Linked DNA regions of Homo sapiens: region 2 is linked to region 1. Evidence: promoter capture Hi-C in 16 types of primary human blood cells and fetal thymus (Javierre and others, 2016). All regions are on one chromosome and are shown on one strand. The core of a region is centred on a gene start or on the middle of the fragment in contact, and the rest is flanking DNA. Distances in the headings are between cores, read along the strand shown.

What was found. Contacts are between HindIII fragments. The CHiCAGO score rates a contact against its expected background, and 5 or more counts as called.
Region 2: a fragment that was not itself captured here is called in contact with the fragment with the promoter of NTN4 in region 1 in 1 of 17 cell types (endothelial precursors); the score reaches 5.9 in endothelial precursors.

Annotation. Positions count from the first base shown.
Region 1 is chr12:95,789,163-95,793,128 of GRCh38, forward strand. NTN4 (netrin 4) reads right to left here and starts at 1,602. Exons shown (of 10, transcript NM_021229.4): 1 at 1,093-1,602. The coding sequence starts at 1,147. It also overlaps the pseudogene RNU6-247P. The HindIII fragment of the contact is 5,039 bases long and covers 1-3,966 here.
Region 2 is chr12:95,673,356-95,677,815 of GRCh38, forward strand. The region is part of intron 7 of NTN4 (netrin 4); the gene reads right to left. It also overlaps the pseudogene PGAM1P5. Among named protein-coding and RNA genes, the nearest start is that of NTN4, 120 kb to the right of the region's middle. The HindIII fragment of the contact is 2,360 bases long and covers 1,125-3,484 here.

The DNA of each region.
Region 1 (3,966 bases), core at 352-2,851:
CTATTCAATGATACTAAGGATGCTCCTGTGACTTGGACTGGTTTGGGATGCAGACTGGAAAGCCTGGATTTTGCTGGGTGCCAGCGGCCCTCAGGGAAGAGTGGAAGCCCAAGGGAGGAGATGCGTGCTACAATGTTCTGTAGCCACCAGCGCATCCCTCTAGCCCAGGCGCCCCTTTCTGAAGCAGTCAAGATCCGCACGAGAGACTGGATGTCTGCAGACTCCCTCACATCTCTCCCCCTCACCTACAGGGCTGCGCTTACGCCTAACTGGAAACCAGGTGACCCGCAAGAGGGAGGGAGAGGAGCAGAAGGGGCTCCCGAATACAGAAACCACGAGCCAGGAGCCGGTGGCCTAGGGCAGCCCAAGAAAGCCAGGATGGGAGTGGGAGGGAGAGGGCATCTGCCGACGCCGACGCCGGTTGTCCAGTTACCGAGCCAGGGAGCAGACCCGCCTCCGACCTCCCGCAGAGTCTCTGCCAGGGTACCAATTCCCCAGGGGCGGCCAGCCAGCTCAATGCAAGCCCGGGGTGATCACCACCTATCGTCCAAGCCAGGAGTCCCACTGCGTTCCAGTCACTGCTCCGGGGAGAGGGCGCTCAGCCCTGCCCCAGGTGTCCTTACCTGGTTCTCTAGTACCCAGCACCAGGTCAGGGACACCAGCGATGGGCTTCTACCAGAGACCGGCCCCAGCCCACGCGCGCCCAGGGTCGCTGGGCCACCCCTCCTCATCATTCCTTAGGCCATGAAGTGCCGGGGGATGGCGAGCTGGGTCCTTTGTTCCCTCACCAAGTGGAAAAGCAGTTTTTTAACAAGCCAAACCAAGAAAGAAACCCCGGTCGCAGTATCCCCGGCAGGGCGCACCCAGGATAGCTGGTTATCCAAGCGCATGTGTATCCCAGTTGTAAAAATAAATCAATAGTATTTGAAACTGCGGAGCCCCGGGGAAAGGAGGCGGAACATGGCCACTCATTTCACCCTCGGGAGCAGCGCTCTGCGCTCGCAGCCCTGGCTCCCCTGCACCCCCGAGTCCCGAGATGGGTTAGAGAAGCAGCGAGGGAAGGGGTGGGGGCCCCGCCGCGTCACCACCCACCTGCGGCCACCACCGTGCAGCCCCAGAGCAGCAGCAGCCGCGCGCAGCTCCCCATGGCCGGGAGGAGCCGGGAGCAGCCGGGCCGGGCGGGTGCCGGAGGGAGCCGAGACCTCTGGGCTGCGGGATGAAGCGCCGCCGTCCTCGGGAGGGAACGGGGCCCTGGTTTCTTCCTCCTCCTGGGGCGCCGGGCTCGGTCAGCGGTCGCCGGCAGCTGGGAGCCAGGGGCCGGGACCGCGCGGGGAGGTGGGGTGACCCTCGCGCACCGGCCTGGCGGGTCCCGGGCACCTGGGGGGCGGCGGGAGCCCCGGGACCATAGCCGGCCTGGCTGCGCTGCCCCGCGGAGCGGCCCTGCGGGCTCGTCTGCCGCTAGCCCGGGGCTCGGCGCCCGCAGCCGCCGCTGAACTTTGCGAGACCTTTCACTTCCCGGCCGCCGCCGCCGCCTCCTCCTGGGCGTCCTCCTCCGCTTTTCCCACCTCTTCTGGCTGCCCCGGCTCCGTCCCGTCCTTCTCCACGGGCAGTTCCATGCGATGCATTTTTATTGCACCGACGCCGCGGCGCTCCGGTGCCAGCCCTCCTCCCCTCGCACCTCCACCCCTTCCTCCCGCCCGCCCCCCGCGCTTGACAGCCCGGGCGGCGCAGCCCGCGGGATCGGATCGCCGCTGCCGCTGCCGCCCGGGGGGGGGGTCCCCCGCGCCCCGACCGACGCCCCCGACGCCCGGCTGCCCGCTGGTCCCGGTCGCCTCAGCCTGGCCCCCGGCTGCCCTGGCGCCCCTCCTGGCCCGCGCCCTGCATCTCCCTAGTGACCCCCCTGGTGCCCTGCAGCACCCACAGGCCTCCCCTGGGAAGCAATCTCCCACCTTCTCCCGGAACATTCCTAAGAGCAGTAGACTCCCTCTAGATCAGGTCAGGGCATGCCAAGGGGCTTAAAAAACCGCGAAACAGGCTAGCGCCTACTTCCCACATCCCCCAGCGAAACAAGCCCTCCCTCCTCCTCCAGCCACCCCCTCTCGGGGAGTCCCACGACCCGGGGACGGAACACCCCAACCCAGCCCCGCGTCACCCGCACTGAGAGCGCGCCAACTGCTAAGCGGCGTTCGCCGCTTCTCTGCTGCCTTTTGCGGGGGTAGGGGGATGTCTCGGCTAAACAATCGCTGCCTACATGATCCGAAGGTGTGCCCACTTTGGTGTAAGAGGTATTGCCTAACTCAAACTCAAGGTGCTGAAAGAAAAGGGTCACAGGATTAGCTAGTCGGCAGTGTAAGAACATCGTTGTCCAGAGGCAGGGCAAGGGCACGACAAAGGGAACTCTTCGGTCCTTCCAAGCGTTCTCCCTTTATAGAGTATGCCGTGCTGTGAAACAGTGTTAGGAACTAACTTATGGGGAGCAATTTAGTAGCAACCACACGCAGCTAATTGCAGATAGGATTGCTCAGGGCTGGTGCTTCTGGAAAGAGATTAAATAGCAGCCGAGTCTGAGATTTTTGCAAGTTCTGTGAAAATATAATTCTACTTACACATCCAGGGAAACTGGCAAAAGTTAAGTCGACAGCAATTTTGTATTGCAGTGCTCATTTTGTTCCTTTGAATATTTTCCAGAAAATTAACTACGTTCCAGATACCATTTAGTCGTTGTGTCTGTTACAGATGAGGATAATTCAGAGCTTTGGGATACATGTAGATATTATTTACAATGACCCAGCCAGGAACATATAAGAAGTTTATATCTCCCAGGGGGATCTGGGTTGAGGTCAGCATAATCCATTTGGGCGACATTAAAATTATTCTTCTGGCCAACAGAGGAAAGTAGCAGAAGGTGTGGACAGCAATTCATGTAGCATCACCTGCTTTAGAAAATAAACGCTTTGAGTTCCCAAATACTGGCAATGGTGGGGCTTTCTTCATATCTCCTAATGGAGCCATTGAAACACCTCTCCAATTAATCTTTTTACCAAATAAATGATAGGAAACTATAACAGCCAAAGGTTCTTAGCATAAATGTTAACTTAATAGCCAAGGCAAATTAAACAAAGGGGTGGATGCACATTTATTATTAACTTCTGAGTCTAGTATATTTAGGCAGAACTAATCCATTTCTGTTTTTTAATTAACAAATAAACTTGTATGTATTTATCATGTACAACATGATGTTTTGAAATATGTATACAGCGTGGAATGACTAAATCTAGCCAATGAACATATGCATTTTTGCATATTAACATGCATTTAAGAATACACTCACTGTCTTAGCATTTTTCAAGAGTACAATATATTGCTAAAAATATAGAATGCTTCACAAATTTGTATGCCATTCTCATGCAGAGGCCATGCTAATCTTCTCTGTATTGTTCCAATTTTAGCATATGTGCTGCCAAAGCAATCACAGAACTACTCCATATCTCATTACAAATTTCAAAGCCATTTACTGTCTGCACGAATCCTGCATTGATAATATATTTCTTTGCTGAATAACTGGCTCTTATTTCCTTTAACAAGACAGAAAGCTCTCTAATGGTAGAACAGTCTTTAATATTCAGTTTATACAAAACATTACTATGTTTTTCTGATATTTTTCCTTATTCTTAGCCAAGAACACCTACAATAAGTGTTCATTACATGTTTTTGACTGAGTTGTGTTAAAACTATTGTTATATACTAAGGGGCTAAGGAGACTAAGGACTAAGGAGAAAACCAGTTATATCACAATGATTTCCCATATTCAAAAGGAATCTGCACATTCGACACCAATACTATCTATATGAAAAGCTCAGGAGAGAAAAATAGTCAGCATTCTAATAAACATCATTTGCTTATATAGTCCAGTTTAGTTACAAAGGATATTTTCATTTTGAAGAAGCTATCCAAGAAAAGGTTACC
Region 2 (4,460 bases), core at 1,055-3,554, 120 kb before region 1:
TGCGACCGCTTTGTTTACTAAGAACTTGTGGGGGAGGAACCATGCTAAGCCATGACCAATGAGGAGAAGCAAGAGAGCCTGTCTGTCCCCAAGAGCCAGTCCTCTGCTCTTCTGTAGTCAGGCCACTGCCTGGGAGCTCTAGTCATTCCAGTGGAAGATGAATGTAACTCGCATGGTGATGTGACAGCTGTTTCCTCCCTGACCCCAGAGGAGATGGCTCTAGAAGGTTGGGATCAATCCTGAATTTAGCTTAGGTGTTACATTTACTTTTATAAAAAAAAAAAAGTATAGTATATATAAATAATACAAAACCATAATCCTTCTCGGATCTCTTGTGGCAGTTGAAATAGTCCCACATGTGGTCATCAGAAAGTAAGCCATTCCTCATACTAATATGGGATAAGCTCCTTGACCTCAGAGGAGTAGGAGTGCTTCCTGCTGTGTGTTTTAGAATCCCTCTGCTGCCTTGTTTCATGGCAGTAAAATGCCTCTTGGTCCTGTCCAAGTGTGTCTTTCACTGACTGATTTCTGAATCATGTTCTAGTTGCTCGGCCACATGGGTCCAGTGCTCATTTGAGCATCACTGTACTAAATCCTTTCTCCAGGAATGAGTATAATAAAGGAGTTATGTGCAATTAAAAAAATTGGCCTGGTGTGGTAGTATGTGCCTGTAGTCCCAGCTACCCGTGGAGGGGAGCATTGGTGGCACTGAGGTGGGAGGATTGCTTGAGCCCAGGAGGTCAAGGCTGCAGTAAGCCATGATGGCACCACTGCACTCCAGCCTGGACAACAAAGTGAGACTCTGCCAAAAAAAAAAGAAAAGAAATTGTAGTAACCTAAGTGAATAGCCTATGGCCTTTGATAATTCCACAAAGCAGAAGAGTACAGTAACTACTGTGCTATAAAACCTAATGGAACTCCAAATGGCATATACTGTTCCTCAACACAATGCTTTTCTCTTTAACCCTTCAGCCTAGAAGAGCAGACATAGGTCTATTGTTTGATGACCTTTCTTTGGCTGCTTTCCAATACTTCTTTTTCATATGCTTAGAGCTCAAACAATATTTGTTGATCAGGCTTCAGCCCAGATGTGTTTTCTTAAAAGAAATCTGGAAGGGAAGAAAAGCTTGTTTAGTTATGCTAGGTTATTAGGACATTAAAAAAAAAAAGAGCATTGTTTACAGTTCTGTGGTACTAGTTAAGGCCAGTTTTGTTATTTAGGAAGTGAAATTTTACATCTGGTATAAGAAGTGGTAGAAATTAAGGGTGTTTTGTTGGTAAAGTATATTATACTCCTAGTTGAAAGCTGTTTTTATGGAAACTTATGGGAGGTATATAGGTAGGTAGATTGTTTTCAGTGCTTAGAACACTTGTTGAAAAAGGTGCTCAGAAGCACCATTCTATACCCAATGCAGGGAACTCAATAAAGTCTTCCTCAATCTGGCGTTCATCCAGATGAATTTCAGAGACTCTCTGGGGACATCACAGACCTAACAGCTGCTGTGGACATGAGAGTCTGCAGTCATTCTGGTGCCAGCACTTTATGTGCTTGGCTGGAATGCTGCCAACTCTCTAATAACATGCATGATGGGCTTAGTGAATGTCCTATAGTCCTAAAAACTGGATTATTACAGATTTGGTTTAGCAAACTTGGAGAATTATAAAAAGTCATTGTGTGCTTAGAAAAATAGAAGAACACCTTTAAAAGTGGCTATTAAAGTTAAAATCATAAAATTCCAGACTACATAGCATTAAGGCAAAAAAAATTCATAGTAAAGACTTGTTTTCTTTTTCAAATGCTGAAAAGATAAATATGATAACTTCATGTTGCCTTCTCTTTCGCACCTTCTTTCCTGTTGTGATTGAACATGAAGCCATTAGGAAAATTATCACGAGATTATGTTAAGTGAAAAAACCATGATACAGATGGGCAAATAACCTTGTTTCTCAGATTTAGGTTCTTGATTCTTGAAGGGTCCATATGTTCTCTATGAGAAGGTTTTAAAACTGTGATTTCTTTCTGATCTAAAATGTGGATTGATGGGTGGATAGAATTTAGGTGGCGGGTATGTGAATGCACAACTTCTAAAACTTTTCTGGATGTCTGAAATTTTTCATAATAAAATGTTGGGAAAATTATCACAGACATTCTCAATCAACACAACTTTGTGAATTCATACTTCAGCACATCCTCAGCTCCAAGCACATAGCAATATTAGATAAAGGACGGAAAAAAAGACATAGCCTGCATCAAAAACTAGATATTTATCTCTGTGGACTAGAAATGAATGTTTTCAATTTGTTGATACTTCTTGAATTTAAAAAAAATGTAAAGAAAGAAAAGAAATGAATGAATGTGCATTCGGGGGATAGGGCTTTGGGGTCCGCTTTCAGAATCAGGCAGCAGTGGTCAGGAGTTCAGATACAAAGGAGTTAATAGGACAAAAAAGAGATCACAGTCAGACTCACTTTTTAAAGACAGATTGGGTAAGGCTCTCCTTGCTAATGAAAGGAGGCTGGGAAAAAACAATAAACCAACCACGTACACAAAACTCCAAACTATTATTCATGGCCACTTGATGACATTCTTAAAAAGGGCTCTGCATTTCATCCAGCATCTAGTCCTGCAAATTATGTAGCTAGTCCTTAAGTGACCTAGAAATGAATCCAAGTTGCCCTCCTGGTTTTCAAAGAATAGATATAATACAATGAAATTAGATTAGAGATAATCAGTAAACAAATATTCTTTTTTGTTTTTTTGTTTTTGAGATGGAGTCTCCCTCTGTCACCCAGGCTGGAGTGCAGTAGCCTGATCTCACTTTACTGCAACCTCTGCCTTCCAGGTTCAAGTGATTCTCCTGCCTTAGCCTCCCAAGTAGCTGGGATCACAGGTACGCGCCACCACACCCAGCTAATTTTTTTGTATTTTTAAGTAGAGACGGGGTTTTGTCATGTTGGCCAGGCTGGTCTCCAACTCCTGACCTCAGGTGATCCACCCACTTCGGCCTCCCAAAGTGCTGGGATTGCAGGTGTGAGCCACTGTGCCCAGCCCCGGGTAAAAAAAAAAAATATTCTAAAAACCCTGATGTTTGAACAATTAAATATCCTAGACAACTCAATGGATTAAAGCGAAATTCTTAATGGAAATTAGAAAAACATTAGAACTTGAATGATAATGAAGATACTACATATAAAGGCCAATAGGATCCAGCTAAAAGATCTTATAAGGAAATGTATAACCTTAAGAGTACTTGCTAAAAATAAGAAAGACTAAAAGTAAGTGAGTTAATAATCACTGGACTCACAAAGGCAGAAAAGGACTAAAAAAGCAAACTTAGAGAAAACATAAAAAAAAAATAAAGATAAGAGCAGAATTAGTGAAATAAAGAAAAATTAAATAGGTTGGATCAAGTTAACCAAAAGTTAATCTCTGAGAGAAGCAAATTAAGATCAGTATAAGACAATAAGAAAAAAGGCACAGATAAGCTTAGGGACAAAAAGAAGATTAAGGACAGATTGAGTAAAGGTTAAATAAATTATGAGTGAATACCATGTATAACTCTATGCCAATACAATTTTTTAAAATTAAAATAATTGGTGGCTGGGCAAGGTGGCTCACGCCTGTAATCCCAGCACTTCGGGAGGCTGAGGTGGGTGGATCTTAAGGTCAGGAGATCTAGACCATCTTGGCTGACACTGTGAAACCCCATCTCTACTAAAAATACAAAAAATTAGCTGGGCATGGTGGCATGCGCCTGTAGTCCCAGCTACTTGGGAGGCTGAGAATTGCTTGAACCCGGGAGGCAGAGGTTGCAGTGAGCCGAGATTGCACCACTGCACTCCAGCCTGGGTGACAGAGTGAGACTCCAACTCAAAAAAAAAAAGAATCGGTAATTTTCTAGAAAACTTTGATTACCAACACCAAATCACAAATAAAACAAATTAATAACCATGACAGATATTGAATCAGTAATACTTTCGTCTACTCATAGACACTGTGTCTCAATGGTTTTATAGATAAATTCTAACAAAAATTCAAGTAACAGATGATTCTATTTTTATATAAATAATTGCAGAGAATAGAAAAAAAACGTAGTGGGTAAGGGGACCTCCTAACTTTCTCAAATATACAATGCAATACATTAAATTATAGGCCAATATCAGTTATAAACATCAATATGAAAATCCTAAGCAAGCAAATAAATAAATGAAAGATAAAAACCCTAGCAGATCAAATTCAGCAACGTATGAATAAAAATACATCACAGCAAATAAAACTTATCCTAAGACTAAAAGAATAGCTTGATAATAATTGCCATTCTGACAAACAACAGATGCTGGCAAGGCTGTAGAGAAATAGGAATGCATTTACACTGTTGGCAGGAGTGTAAACTAGTTCAACCATTGTGGAAGACAGTGTGGTGATTCCTCAAGGGTCTAGAACCAGAAATATCATTTGG